Regions from separate parts of the Homo sapiens genome. Here region 1 is linked to region 2. The links are contacts of gene promoters, found by promoter capture Hi-C in blood cells and fetal thymus (Javierre and others, 2016). All regions are on one chromosome and are shown on one strand. Each heading gives the region's core, a stretch centred on a gene start or on the middle of the fragment in contact. The rest is flanking DNA. Distances are from core to core; before and after follow the strand shown.

What was found. The method cuts DNA at HindIII sites, captures the fragments that hold promoters and counts their contacts. A CHiCAGO score of 5 or more calls a contact.
Region 1: a fragment that was not itself captured here is called in contact with the fragment with the promoter of GALNT3 in region 2 in 1 of 17 cell types (neutrophils); the score reaches 6.8 in neutrophils.

The regions. Positions count from the first base shown.
Region 1 is chr2:165,937,023-165,944,357 of GRCh38, forward strand. It overlaps TTC21B (tetratricopeptide repeat domain 21B), which reads right to left. Exons shown (of 29, transcript NM_024753.5): 5 at 6,197-6,319; 6 at 4,005-4,162. All of the region lies in intron 1 of TTC21B-AS1 (TTC21B antisense RNA 1), which reads left to right. Among named protein-coding and RNA genes, the nearest start is that of TTC21B-AS1, 6.8 kb to the left of the region's middle. The HindIII fragment of the contact is 2,806 bases long and covers 3,754-6,559 here.
Region 2 is chr2:165,789,834-165,796,987 of GRCh38, forward strand. It overlaps GALNT3 (polypeptide N-acetylgalactosaminyltransferase 3), which reads right to left and starts at 4,414. Exons shown (of 11, transcript NM_004482.4): 1 at 4,182-4,414. LOC124906086 reads left to right here and starts at 3,753. Exons shown (of 6, transcript XM_047446887.1): 1 at 3,753-3,959; 2 at 4,086-4,504; 3 at 4,967-5,246. The coding sequence starts at 3,753. RefSeq lists enhancers at 3,164-4,070, 4,071-4,976 and silencers at 4,047-4,136, 4,207-4,356. The HindIII fragment of the contact is 5,078 bases long and covers 3,349-7,154 here.

The sequences.
Region 1 (7,335 bases), core at 3,907-6,406, 150 kb after region 2:
ATGCCACAATTTGGAAGCAATCAAGATGTCCTTCAATGGATAAAACTGTGGTACATCGAAACAATGAAATATTATTTAGTACTAAAAATAAATGAACTATCAAGTCATGAAAAGACATGGAAGAAAGTTAAATGCATAATACTAAATGAAAGAAGCCAAGCTGAAAAGGCTACATATTGTATTATTCCATATTACAGGACATTCTGGAAGAGGTAAAACTATAAAGGCAGTAAAAAGAGCAGTGGTTGCAAGGAGTTGGGGAGATGGAGGGATATATAGCGGATACACAATAAAGATAATTTTTAGGGCAGTAGAAATATTCTGTATGATACTATAATGGTGGATACATGTGATTACACATTTGTCCAAACCACTAGAATGTACAACACCAAAAGTGAACTGTAATATAAATGACGGACTTTGGGCGCCTATAGTGTAAGTTCATCCACTGTAACAAATGTACCACTCTGGTGGGAGATGTTGATAATTAGGCAGCCTATCTATGTGTGGAGGCAAGGAATATATGGGAAATCTCTGTACCTTCTGTTTAATTTTGCTGTGAACCTAAAACTACCCTAAAAATACTGTCTATTAAAAAACAGTTTGGTGTATCTATGTGAATAGGTATAAAATGATATCTATGAAATACCCTCTTAAAGAGAAAAACAAGTTTAAAAGTACATTATGAGTCTATTTATTATTTTTAAAACACCCTCAAATATATACATATTTTTAAAATATATAGAAACCACACACACACACACACACACACACACACACACACACACACACACACACACAGTGCCTAGAAAAAAAATCTTGAAAGATATATACATCAAAAAATTACTAGTACCCTAATTGTGGCCTTCAAATATCATTTCACACTAAAAGAGATTAGATTGCCCTGGACAAATGACTGATACCTACTTGGGGAAGTAATACACAAAATGAGCCTGGACAGCTTGTCGTACCAAATAGCAAAGTAACTATCAAAGACTACTAGGATCATGTCAAAAGGACTTAAGAACAACTTGAAGAAGCTCCTAATAGTCAGAGAAAAGACTGTGCAATTATAATGACTAAAATGTCCAGAAGCACTCATCTAAATCCATGGTATGTAAAACAAACAAACCTGAGCCACTAATCAATTACCAATGAAGGATGCTAAGGAATTCTTGGCATTTTTTTTTTTAAACCTGGAAATAACGGAAAAGACTTCAGCATCTTATCCTACTTTTCTTATATGAACCATACCACTCAGTAACTAACCAGGAGAAGAGAAGTTTTTCTTTATAGGTATTCTAGCTAAGAAACAAAGAAAGAATGACAGAATTCAAATGCAACCCTACTATAATCCCTATGAATCAAGCACCTAGTTATTGAGCATGAATAACTGCTGATATCACGAAAAGAGAGAGACAAGCAGACATTCTGTCACTGTGATGAAAGACAACAGTACCACTCATGAAGTAATTGCCAAAACAACAAAATTGAATGTGAATTTAACCAAACCTCTAGATCCAACTACCAACTTACAGGAAATACAGAGGATAAAGCAACAAGTTGTACTACACCATGGCAGACAAACAACAAAATCTAGATCATGGAAAATGCTACAGGACAAAACACTGGTTTCTTCACTTAAAAAAATGGCAAGAAGAAAAAGAGAAGGGAAACAGGGAAACAGAAAAGGCAGGAAGAAGGAGGGAGGGAGAGGGAAGAGGGGAAGGAGAAAGGAAGGGAGAGGGAAAGAAAGAGTGAGAAAGAACTCACAGAGACAGGGAGACAGCCTCGAGACTTTAAAGATATAAACCAATCACCATATGTGGACTTATTTGGATCCTGATTAAAAAATAATTTATTTAAAAAACACAATATTTGAGACTATTGGTAATTTGAACACTGGATAATTGATATTAAAAAGCTATTTTTAATTTTTTATATGTGATAATGATATTGTCATTATGTTGTAGAGGGAAAAGAATTATCCTATTTTTTCAACACATCTTGTGATATTTACAAATGAAATGATGCAGAGTTTTGAATTTGCTTCAAAACGAAAATTAAAGCCAAGAACCAAATGGGAGTTTAGTCATGTGGTGACGGTAGCTAGGGGCAGGAAACAGATAAAGAGTACCTCATGATGTTCTTCTGTCTGCTTTTACATAAATCTGAAATTCTCCATAATAAATGATAGACGATCTTAGCAAAGATGTTACCAAGATGTTCGGCCCTGAGATAGCCATTAATATTTTGTCAGATATGAATAAAAGTTAGACATGCTTGCAAGTCACTTATTCTCAAGATTCTAAGACTATAAACCTTAATCCAAACTGAAGTAAAGGTGACTTTCTATGCAATTTATACTTCATTTGTATCTTGAAAGTATCCTGCCTATTGTTTGCATGAAAAGTTCTATTAAGACATTCTGATTTTAAAGGTATATTTGTATTACCTATGAAATTTACTTTTCTGTAATTTCAGTATTAAGTGACATGAATTCATCTGTTAGAAAGTATTGATTTGTGACTCAAATATATTTATTCTTGATCTCATGGCTTTAAAGTCACTGACACATAAATCATATCTATGTGTCAGTGACTCCAAAATACTAGCTATAGCCTAGACCTCTCACAAGAACTCCAGATTCAGACATCCAGCTGCCTGCCCATACATCCATCTCTACTTTGACTTCTCATAGGCATTTCAAACTTACAATGTTGAAAGCTAAACTCCTTACCTGCCCTGAAACCTTCTTTTTCCATAATCACCCTGTCCAGCTGAAGCAAACTCTATCCTCTAGTGCAAGTAGTGGGTAAGAGCACAGACTCTGGGACTAGAGTGCTCTGGATTTGAATCCTGACTCCACCACTAAGTAATTGTGTGGCTCTGGAGAAACTTCTTAACCTCTTTGTACCTTAGTCCACTCAGCTGTAAAACAGAAATACTAATAGTACCTTCCTCTTAGGGTTACCCTAGGAATAAATAGCACTTCCTATGAGCCAGGCATTCTGAACACTTCACAACAGTTCATTATCATCATTGTTGTTGTTATTCTGGTAGTTCAGGCCAAAAACCTTGGAATCACCTTAAACTATTCTTTCTCTTACACCTAAACAAAATGCTACAGGTCCAGATTCCAATCACTTCTCAAAGCACTTCCACCACAACTATACTGGGCCTGCCCCGACCATTTCTCAATGATGGCAACAGCTTTCAAAAGGTTCTCCCTGCTTCTGCCTTTGCCTGCTCGCCCACAGTCTGTTTTGCACATGGCAGAGTGATTCTTTTAAAACAGAATTTAGATGATGGCACTCCTCTGCTCAAAACCCTCCAGTAACCTCATGCTTCAGAAGAAAACCCCAAATCCTTACATGGGTAACAAGACCCTTCACCATCTAGCACGGGCTCACTCCCACCCTTTGTCTCAGACCTCACACCTTACTCACCTCTCTTACTCCTTCCCACTCCTCAAACATATGACATGTGCTCCCACCTCGGGGACTCTGCATTTGCTTTTCCTTCTTTCTGCAAAGTCTTCTCTCAAATATCTGCATGGCTTACTCCCTTACCTTCTTTAGAAGATGGCTCAAAGGTCTCAGCCTTCCATGACCATCCCATAAGATTGAACCCCTCAACACTCCCCATCTCTTTCTTGGTTTATCTTTTCCCCATAGCACTTATACTTTCTAACATACTACACAATATACTTATTTGGTGTGCTTAGTATATGGTTCCTTTCACTTAAATATAAGCTTCATGACCACAGGGATATTGGCCTGTTTGCCTAAAAAGAGTGTCTGTCTTAAACCAGGAATCAAATATTTATGTAAATCAATAAATTCAATGTTTAAAAGCAGTATGATTTTAAGTATTTCCTCGGTTCCACACTGTTTGAAAAAAATCAAATTTAAAAACCCTTATGAAAAAAATTCACAGATGTCGCTTTTTCTCAAAATTATAACCAAATCCAAAGAGACTTGTGTCATCTTTTATTACTTAACCTTTGTGCTGTCTCAACTGTCTGGTCCCAATCCTGCAAGGCTAGTTGTAATTTCATTTTCTTAACAAAAGCAGGAAGGAAGCTCGGAAAATTCACGATTATCTGGTTCACAGTCTCCAGGGCACCTGAATAATTCTGGCGCATCTCAAGGCATTGTGCCTAATGGAAGGGAAAAAAAGTGATATCCAAACTGTGATCTTTCATATCAAAGTTCTCATAACGCAGAGCAGGCAGAGTATGAGCGTTTAATACTTACTTTTCTGTGAGGAGCAGTTATCACTTTTTAAGTTTTTGTCAAAACAAAATTTTAAAACATCACAGAATAATACAAATACATTATATAAGCTATTGTGTTTTAAAATTTACTTTTAAATGGCTGAAAAACATGATTAAAGGATAAAATTTTTTAAAATGTTCTCGGAAATACCATAAAATAATGTTTCCATTTAAAACAAAATTATCTTTTTAGATTAAAATGTTTCCAGGAAATTTTCAAGTAGCATCTAAAATTTTAAGAAATTTTAGAAATTTTGCATCTTTTTTAAGAAATTATTTTCAGGTTAAAGAATATATGATTTTAAAGAACAAGCAAAATACAGTTCAAACAAATCCCTCTACTTCAACATTTTTCACTTCTATGAATTATCTGAAGGAAATAATTGGACAAGACCACAAGGAAGTATATAGATGATATTTATGGCAGAATTGTTTATGTATAAAATAATCCCAAATGTACCTAGAGGAGAAAATTATAGTATATCTAATTTAATAAAATGTTAAGTAATCATTAAAAATGATGATATAAATTTGTAGACGTAGATTTACTGACATGAAGAGATATTATATATAATAGTTTAACTGGTTATTTCCAATGGTGATGCTCATTTTCTCATTCAGATGTTATTGTATTTTCTGAAAAAAAGTTTTACTATGTTCATGTATCTCATAGTCAGAAAAAATAAAGCTATAAATATAGTTAGTACATTAAAAAGAGATGATGAGGCAAATTTTTATCAACTAGCTTTTCTTTAAGAGAAGGAAAATGATCAAGAAAAGTATATGGCCAATTTCTTCAGCAGTGCTATTAGGTAAAACTTGAGGGTAGTGGGCCTGAACACAAGATGTTCAACAGGCTTACTGTCCACACAAAGTGACAGGAAAAGTGATGTGGAGACATTAACAAAAGTCAAGACATGAATCCTCTCCCCTTCTTTTTTATCCCTCCAAATTACTGCTTATCTAGCAGACTTGTTCCCAACATATAATTTCTTTTTGCTGAGTCAAAAAAAAATTAAGGCATTTAGATAGCATCAATGGGGATTGAAGAAAGGGTCCTACTTAAATATTTCCATCCATCAGTAAGTTCTAATGACTCCTTCAATTGCTCATCCCTCAAAATGTATGTCCGATCATGTTATTTCTCTGTTCAAAACTTTGTATTGGCTGCCTGTCTCTCTAATAGAAGGTAGAAGCCAAAGGCCTTACAGAACAGGCCAGGCCCACCACTCCTCCTCACCCCCATCCCACCTTTCTTCCTCAGGCCTTCACTTCTGTTCTCTTTACTCAACCCACTTTGGCCTCCTTGCTAGCCCTGAATACACCTTAGGGTACCTGAACTCATCATCTCCTCTATTTGAAATACTTTCCCCAGATGCCTGCAGGGCTTTAACCCTCACCTCCATAAATGTGTTTGCTCAAATGTCACTTTCTCCGACCACTTCATGTAAAACTGGAAGTTCATGCCCTAGCTTTTCCAGCTGTATTTTCCATTATACTTATCACCTTCTAATATACCATATAACTTACTTATTTTGTTTATTGTCTGCCTCCATCAGTAGGATATAAGCTCCATAAAAACAAGAGGTTTTCTCTTGCTCAGGGTTTCTAATATCTAGAGGGATGCCTCACATACATAAGACACATAATAAATGCTGAGGAAAGAATGTGTGAACCAAAACAACAACAACAATTAACAGTTACAGCTGATCCAGGATTCAGGAACTCTGGCAGGGAATACATTTCTCTAGTGTATTGCTCATTGTCCTACACAAATGCCAGTCTACCTTACAGCTGTGAGCTGACAACAGTATCATGAAAATTATCAACTTTTTTGAGCTACTTGGTTTTGTCAGGTTTCAAATATATTATGAATATATTTTGAAACATGATTTATTTACCCTAACTCCAACTCACCTTACCCAGCAGAGCAAAAGTATCATTCCCATCTTGGAGTCCCTCTTCAAAATACTTCAGTGCTTTTTTAGTGTAAGGCTCTTTTCCTCTTGTAATATCAAGCCATGCTTTCAAAACGTGTCCCTGTAAAATGAATAATTCTATTTTTACTTTTTTAGAAATGAGAGAAATAAATGTTAATGAAAGAGCCTAATGTCATTTTTCTGGCAATTAATAACAAAAAGGACTCTATCAAATATGTTATGAACAATAAAATTCTGTTAGTGAAATCACTTTTGAACCCTTGCCAGCCTAGTGTCTTGGGAACTATACTACAAATTTCAGCCTTTAACATTACTATTAAGCTCAATATTAAAATTAAGAAGCTTATCAAATATTCCATTAGTGTTAAAACCATTATTTTCTCTGAGACTTTGCTAGTAATTGACAATTAATAACACTTAAACATGAAATTCAATATATAGATGAGAATTTGTTGTTTCTTTTTGGACAAACCGTCTAAATGAACTAAGATGAAATAACAGAAGAAGCCTTGCTTCACATATCTTAAAGATTCAGATAATCTGGCAACAATCTTCTTAACCTCTTTGATTAGTCCATTGAATTTCAAATGACAGGTGGATAGCCTGAGAAATTATAAACTGAAGAACTCATGGATATTTATCTTTACACATGTTAGTGGGCCGATGGGTTGTAAGACATATGGGATTGAAAACAAGATAAAAACTGGTTATTTTTCTCTTTAAGGTCAAATAAAAAACTGTGAAATGTGCTTTTTCTATTAAAAAAATCTAGGTTAACTGACAAATTTATAAACCTTTAACTAAGACTATATTTACCTCCCTGTATTTCACCCGAAAATACAAATAAGGATCTTAACCAATGCTATGTGCTAAATCAGTGCCATCATTGAATGGTTTTAACTATTGTCTCTGTGTGGATGATTCCCAACCTATATTTCTAGCCGAAAACCTCTTCTAAATTTTTCTTTTTCCAGAAATTCATCTGCTATCTCCATCTTACTGTTCTGCCAGCACCAGAAATACAGCATGTCTTAAGACAAATAGATCACTTCCCTTTAAGATTAGTTTCTTATGCCAATGTATTTTCTATTTATGCTAACTGGTCTCTAATTTTTT
Region 2 (7,154 bases), core at 3,164-5,663:
GACATAATCCACTAAGTTGAATACACAATCACAATAGCCTCCTGACAGTTCACTCAGGCTTTGCTCCAACTGAGTTCAAGTTTTGCTAACAAATGAGTTAAATTTTGTTTTGCTTTGTTTTCAGAGGATGATTTTTGAATTATAGATAAGAAATGGTACAATGTACTACTATCTATAAATAGAATACAGAGAGTGAGCAGGTTGTTTGTTCATTTGTTTTTTGATGAGATGAAGGTTCTGGTTTGAACATATATAATCTCCAGTGATGAACAAATGTTAAAGATGTCCAATAGGCAATCATATAGAAAAGAAAATTAGTTTGGACAGTTTGAAACTGAAACAATTATAGGGAAAAGGTGTACTTGGGGGAATATTCTCTCTTTAGTGCCAAAAATAAGAGCCCAACTCTGAGAATGACCCAAGGAAGTGTCATATAATTGTCAGTAGTCTCTAATGACCTAGAATTCAGAGTCCTACTTGTCTTTGCTTTGCAATAAGTGAATGTACTTTTGTCTCTTGCCACTGCTGGAATTGATTTGAATTCAGTTTTCCCCCTTAGTGTACATGAGTTGTGTTAAATTTCACCCAAATTACATAGTATGAATTATTTTGATACTAACTAAATGCATAATTGAACAGCTAACTGAAAACACCTTCCTTTTCAATAGGATTTTATATCTATAAAGTATCTATCATTCCAAATGTATTTTTGCACTTGATGGACTAAAGAACTGAATACATGTGAAGATGATTCAGGCACTGATCATTTCTAAAATCCTAAATATGATAATATTTTCCTTAGGAGAAATATTTCACCCACCAAGAATGTAAAGGCAGGTTAAAATTGAAAGTGTCTACGGAAGGCTTAATTATCCAATCAGAGCTTCCAAGACTACATTCCTACAAATCATTGAGGGATCTATTTTAATCTCTCAATGTAGTCTTTTTGTGGAGAGGGGGAGTGTAATTCCTACAATTTGTCTCATACTTGTTTCATAGTAAAAAAGAAAAGCATTAAATATTAACAGAATATAAACCAAATAATAAACTGGCTATGTTTTCTCTAATAAATTTTCAGACTCCACCCAGAACTCTAACTCAGTCATAAAACTTTAAGAGTTCAGAATAGAGCTGGACAGAAGGTTTCTCCCTCAAAATTTCACTGAATTCTTATCATCAAAATCCCCTCAGAAAAAAATATTTCTAGTTTTTCCTGTTCCCAAATACACTACAGCATGATGAGAACCCATTTAACACAAAATATGTATAATGAACAAGGTTTCATGTAGTTCTTAATATTTGAAAGATTTAATCTAGCACCAAGGTCCTGGAGCCTCAAGCCCTACAATACATGTTTAATTAGGATTACAGTAAAGTTTTTAAGAAATAATTTATTTTCTTTCATGTGAGTGGGTGTGTGCCTGTGTGTGTGTGTGTGTGTGTGTGTATACGCATGTATGAGACAGAGAAAAAGAAAGCTGGTAGAAAAATCAGCCTTTAAAAGAACAAAAATTCAACAGAATAGTGCTATTTTCACATTGAGGGCTCCAGCACTTTCGTGGTCATAAAGCAGTCTAATTGTTTAGACCAACGTTTTTAAAAATAAAATAATAAAGAACATACATGTTGTAAGGTTAAGCACTGTTTTATATTAATAAAACTTGTTTCATTTATATACACTCACATTGGAGTTTACAGAGTTGAGGCAGAGAATAAATTAGTTATTGAGGATTGCAGTAAAAGGAAAAAAAAGTTTAAAGAAACTTAGTGTTAAGGAAGTGTGCTTGAAATAAAAAATCTGGAGTGTTGCAAATGGATGAAAGGCACTGGGTAGCTGCCTCATAAAATATATTTTAAGCCAATATAATAAAAAGATCAGAAGACTAAATAATGTTATCCACATTGACTTAAAAAATTAACTGTGGCTTGGAAATACCAAGAAGGAACTAAAAGTCTCAACTGACATGGCATCATCAATATGCATGCTATTCCACAATGAGAGGAGCATGATGCCTTCACTGGGTAGTTTCCACGAAGTCAGGCAATATTTGGACAAGTAGAAATGAGGGTAAATCAGAGTGAAGAAAGAGCAATGGACAATTCTGTAATTACAAAGGCCTTACAAATTATATGAAAGAAAAAAGATAAACATCTTATGGTAAGTGAGGATGTGGGTGGTGAAAAGTAAGATACAGGAGTCATGAGTCAAGCCACTGGAATGATCATGCCATCTCTGAGTGAAATGAAGTTAGAATACCTCTCTTGGCTTCAATTTTTCATAAATGGATGGTTTGAGTATTGAATCTCCAAAGTGAGAAAGGGATCTCGAGAATGCTAGGGCTGGAAGATACTCCTGATTGTTTTTAAGGTTTTGTTATCTTAATCTAGGAAAGTATTATTTTTCCTATTTAACAGATAGATTAAGTTACACTGTTACTCTAGCTAATGAAAACATGTTACATTTCTCACTAGAGGTTAAGAGGAAAGACAGTCTGGTAACATCTGCCTAGTAAGTAATGAAGACTAATATTCAAAATTCAGGGAACAACTCCTATATCTCATATTTAAACAGTATTTAGCACATTTGTTTCTCTGTATGGAGACAAGATTAAGAGGTCAGGTGAGATCCTTTTAAGAAATGTAGAAAAGTGGTGATTGAATTAATAATTACATCATGTTATGCTGTGGTTGGCTTTTAGATTTCCATCTAATCTTAAAAAGAAGAAGAAAAATAACCCCACTACATGTTGCATCAGGCATTTTAAGTAAAACGTGCAATTTAAAAAATATTTTTAAAATGTGTGGAGATAGAACAAAACAATGGAATTGTTATTATTATCAGAAACTTCTACGTAAAAATGTTGGTTAAAGCAATATATAAAGATTGATTCTCGGTACAAATTGCTTGGAAAGTTTAACATGTGCACTAGATTTCAGATATTAAAAGTTAAATTAAAAAAAAGAATCTAATGGCAGCGTGTGACTTTAACCTCATGGATTTTAGCCACAAACGCAAAGAAAAATATATACAATAAAAGAAGCAACAGATTTTCCCACAAGCAGAGATTTTCTAATTAAAATGCTGTCACTTTAATATTTTTTAGCTATAGAATTTGACTGTAAATGTCTTCATTATGTAGTGTAACTTCTATAGCAAGTTATGTTAACGTTTTCAAGAATCGGAAATATTGGTAACTCGATGGGGTTCTTAAAACAGAAATAGTTTCTTTGATGAGTTGGAAAGAGAAGGAAATAAAAGTCTAAGGTAAGCGCCAGTTTCACCCTCAATTCTTAGGCTTCAGAAAAGCCTAATTAGGCAGGGAAAGGAATCTGGGCCTGGCACACCCAAGCTTAGACGTGGCAGGATCCTGAAACAATGTTTTTTTGAACCTTTGAGTCATATGCCACAGGCAAACCATAGCCGCGATATGCAGGTCCTTAAGTCAACAGGTCCTCTAACGAGATGGTGAGTGGTTGGTGCGTGGCAGTTGGATTTCTTCCCGCCACGGAAGAAAAGAACTCTTCTCCATTGATCAGGAAAGTGGGCCCAACTCTGGCCTGGAGAGCGCACCCGGAAAAGTGCAGAGTCGAAACAGAGAGAGAGGGGTGTCCGCGTCCCGGCCACAGAGCCCTTTCCAAACCACTCGGAAACCATTTAAATGGCTCGGCGGCCGCGGTTTGCAGCCTAGAACTGTTTGGGGTCCCCGGCTAGGAAAGTTGCCTGGCAAAGCCATGTCTTTCGCTGTCGCGGGATGTCCTCTCGGGCAGAGAGGCTGGAGGAGACAGGCAACCTGCTAGCCGGAGTGGAAGCGCGCCCGCCTCCCGCCGGGCCCTCCCTCTCAGGGTCCCCACGCTGCGACCCTCCCAAGGGCAAGTCCGGGGCCACCAGGTCTTTGGTCTCCGTCCAGCTCCTCAGGGGCCGCCCCATAGGGACTGGCGGGGGCACCGTGGGCGAGAGGGTGTGACCGGGCTCCCCCCCGAGGCGCCACCTGCCCCTTGGCCCAGGGCGCCCCTTTCGGGATCTCTCCAGGGGCAACCGACACACTGCTCTCGAGACCGTCTCCAACCGGCCACCTGGACCGTAGCCCTGTCCCCAACACGTGAACCCCTGCGGCCGTCCTCCCGCCTGCTCTAACGCAGCCCAGGGGTACCGCGTCTCCCTCCGCCTGCCGCCGGCTTACCTGGCGGGTGGGCAGGGCAGGGTGGCGGGAAGCGGCGGCCGGGCAGGCGCTGGACGTGGGCTAGGCGCCAGGTGCAGGTGGCGGCGGCTGCGACTCCGGTTGCTGTCGCCACAGTTGCGGCTCAGTAGAGCTCCTCCTCCGCCGCCGCCTCCTGCCTTCCCGCTGGGCCTCCCGCGTTGCCTGGAGAGGCAGAACCGAGGCTCGGCTTCCACTTGGAGTCTCCCAGGTGAGCTCCAGCCTGCGACGTCGGCAGGGGCGAGGCCCCACTTCCGCGCCTGCGCGCCAGCCTCCCGCCCCGCCCCAGCCCTACCTGAGCGCTCCAGGTGAGAACCTTGGATCGCGCGCGCAGGGTGGGGGCGCCGTCCGGGCCAAGCCTGGCTGTCGCGCGGCTTCTCTCTGAGTGGTCGGCGAGGCTGCTGCTCCGCGCAAGTTGTGGCTCCCGGCCCATCTACATTGGAGGAATCCTGCACTGACCTGGTGGCAGTGATCACCTTGTAGCCAGAACACAGTCTGCTGGGTCCTTGGGGAACCAGAAGTTCTAGATTTCCCCCACACGGTTCCTCCCTTCCTCCTCGGTTCGCCAAAATGAAGGGGTGCGCTGCCTCCGAGGACCACTTCGGGAGGGCAGCAACTGCTGGCTCATGTGGTTTCTTCGGGCAGGGTTCAGCAGCTTCTGTCACCAGTTAGGTTTCGTGAGCTTCCTTCCCGTGTAGTCTTGATTTCATCACTTGACTCACTTCAGCGCAGCTAGTGGTTTCCGTTTCTGTACGCGGGCGCTCTGGTAGGGGCGCCTCACGTCCAAAGGAGGAGTCTTCTTCCAAAGAAGAGCCTTTGGTATTTGGCAGAGCCTCGCCAATTTGGGGCGCACCTCCCCTTCCTGGGATGCTCTCAGAAGGCAAACCAATTCCCAGAAGAGAGGGAAAAACAGCCACAACAGAGAGAACCTTTGCTGTCCCTGTTTGGAAAGAGATTGGGATTTCCTGGAGAGGGCTTGCTTCTACTGCAGGTTTGTTTAAAAGCTCAACATCTATTCTGGAAGAGAACAACGCAGACTCCAGGAAGATGGTGGGTTTTGCTGTTTTTAAGACAAAAAAAAATTGTTAAACAGTATTTGTTCCATTTATGACACAACTTTCTGTTTCAGCCTTCCTTCTGCTGCTGCAACAAACATTGACACACCCAAAACCAGGACTTAAAATGGCCTTTATACCTTTCTATGAACTCATTTCTTTGGCCCTATCCCAAAGATATCTAGGGATATAAATAGAAAACTAGCTAAAAACTTTTTGGTGTCGTGTTTAATCACATGGTGGTAGGTTTTACTATGAAGTTTAGTTGTGGCCTTCCTCCTACATTTTGACATGCTCTTATGGTGCTTATTCACTGTTTTATTAGTGCTATGCGTGACCTAAAAATAAGGTTTAAAATACAGTTTAGTATAGTATCAACAAGTGTATCTTTAGTATTTGACTACTCTAAGACATTGGTTTTAGCATCCATAGTGCTATTTTATACTAGGACATCTATGAGTTAGGGTTTAAGACTTTAGTAAACTAGGTAGTTCTTTGCTTGTTTTACATGTCATGGTTATTTTGCGAGCACCAAGGAACCTCCATGTATTTGCAACATTTTAATATCAGTACCTACAAGCAATTGCCAAGCTCCCTTTCCCTCCAAAAACAAACAAACAAAAAAATAGTTCAGGAGATACTTGTGTGTATTGATATACTAACTTGGCAGTGTTTTTCCTTAGGTCCAGGTCCAGAACTGAAAATACTAACTACTGAAATTCTCTTCTCCTTCTCCTTCTTCTTCGTTGTGCCACTTTGTCGTTTACCCCTAACCAGAGGTTAATGTTAGTCTTTGGAAAATTTGTAAGGTATCCTAAATGTATAACCAAGAAACCTGTACCCTTTTGCACGCACCACCCATCTCTGAATGAAGAGCCAAAGATTGTCAGAGTTTTGATGTCCCACCAGGCGAAGAGCAACACTTTTCACTGACAATCAGGACAGAGCAGATGGATATAGAATAACAATCTGGAATCCAAGGACTGAGATGCATTGACAGCAAGACTAGTAACGTCAAATAACAACTGAAAAGAGAAGCTAGGGTAGACCTATTAAAAGAGAGAGCCAGCAAACAGGACCAAAATGCTGGATGAGGAGTCTAAAAAGAACAGAAGAAACAAAAAAGATCAGGAGTTACTAAAATTTGACTGTCAGTTTTACAATGGAGACAGACAATTTAAAGAAGGAAGCAGTTTTTCTGAGTGTGGCATTACTTGTGCACGTTGAGTGTCATATATATAGAGAGAGAGAAAGAGAGAGAGTGAGAGAGAGTGAGAGAGAGAGAGAGAGAGATATCTTGGGGATGAGACCTGTCTAAACACAAAATTCATTTATGTTTCATATACACCTTATACACATAGCCTTAAGGTAATTTTATAAAACATTGTAAATAATTTTATGCATGAAACAAAGTTTGTGTAAAGTACTTATGTGTGGAATTTTCAACTTGTGGTGTCATGTTGGTGCTCAAAAAGTTTTGAATTTTGGAACATTTCAGATTTTGGATCTGTGGATTAGGGATGCTCCACCTGTACTATTTTACACAACGTTGCTTGTACTATTTCAAAGCATTCTGAAAGCAAAGTCTTAATATTAATAAAAAATTTTCTATGTGACAATAAAATTAAAATGCTGCAGGCCCAAGAAAAAAATATTATCATATTGAAATATTTAATGCCCCAAATCTAATCAGATGCAGGTTTTTGAAAGTACCATCCTATTCAAAATTATGAAATAAAGAATTTGTTTCATAAAGAGAAATTAGCATTTCATCATAAATAAAATCCAGGAACCTTAGTGTAGACATGCTTCAGAAATAAGCTAATTTTAATAGTATATGTTTGACATATAATGACAGTTAAGATAGAAAACTGGGCAGATTTTACACAGGAAGGAAACAAAC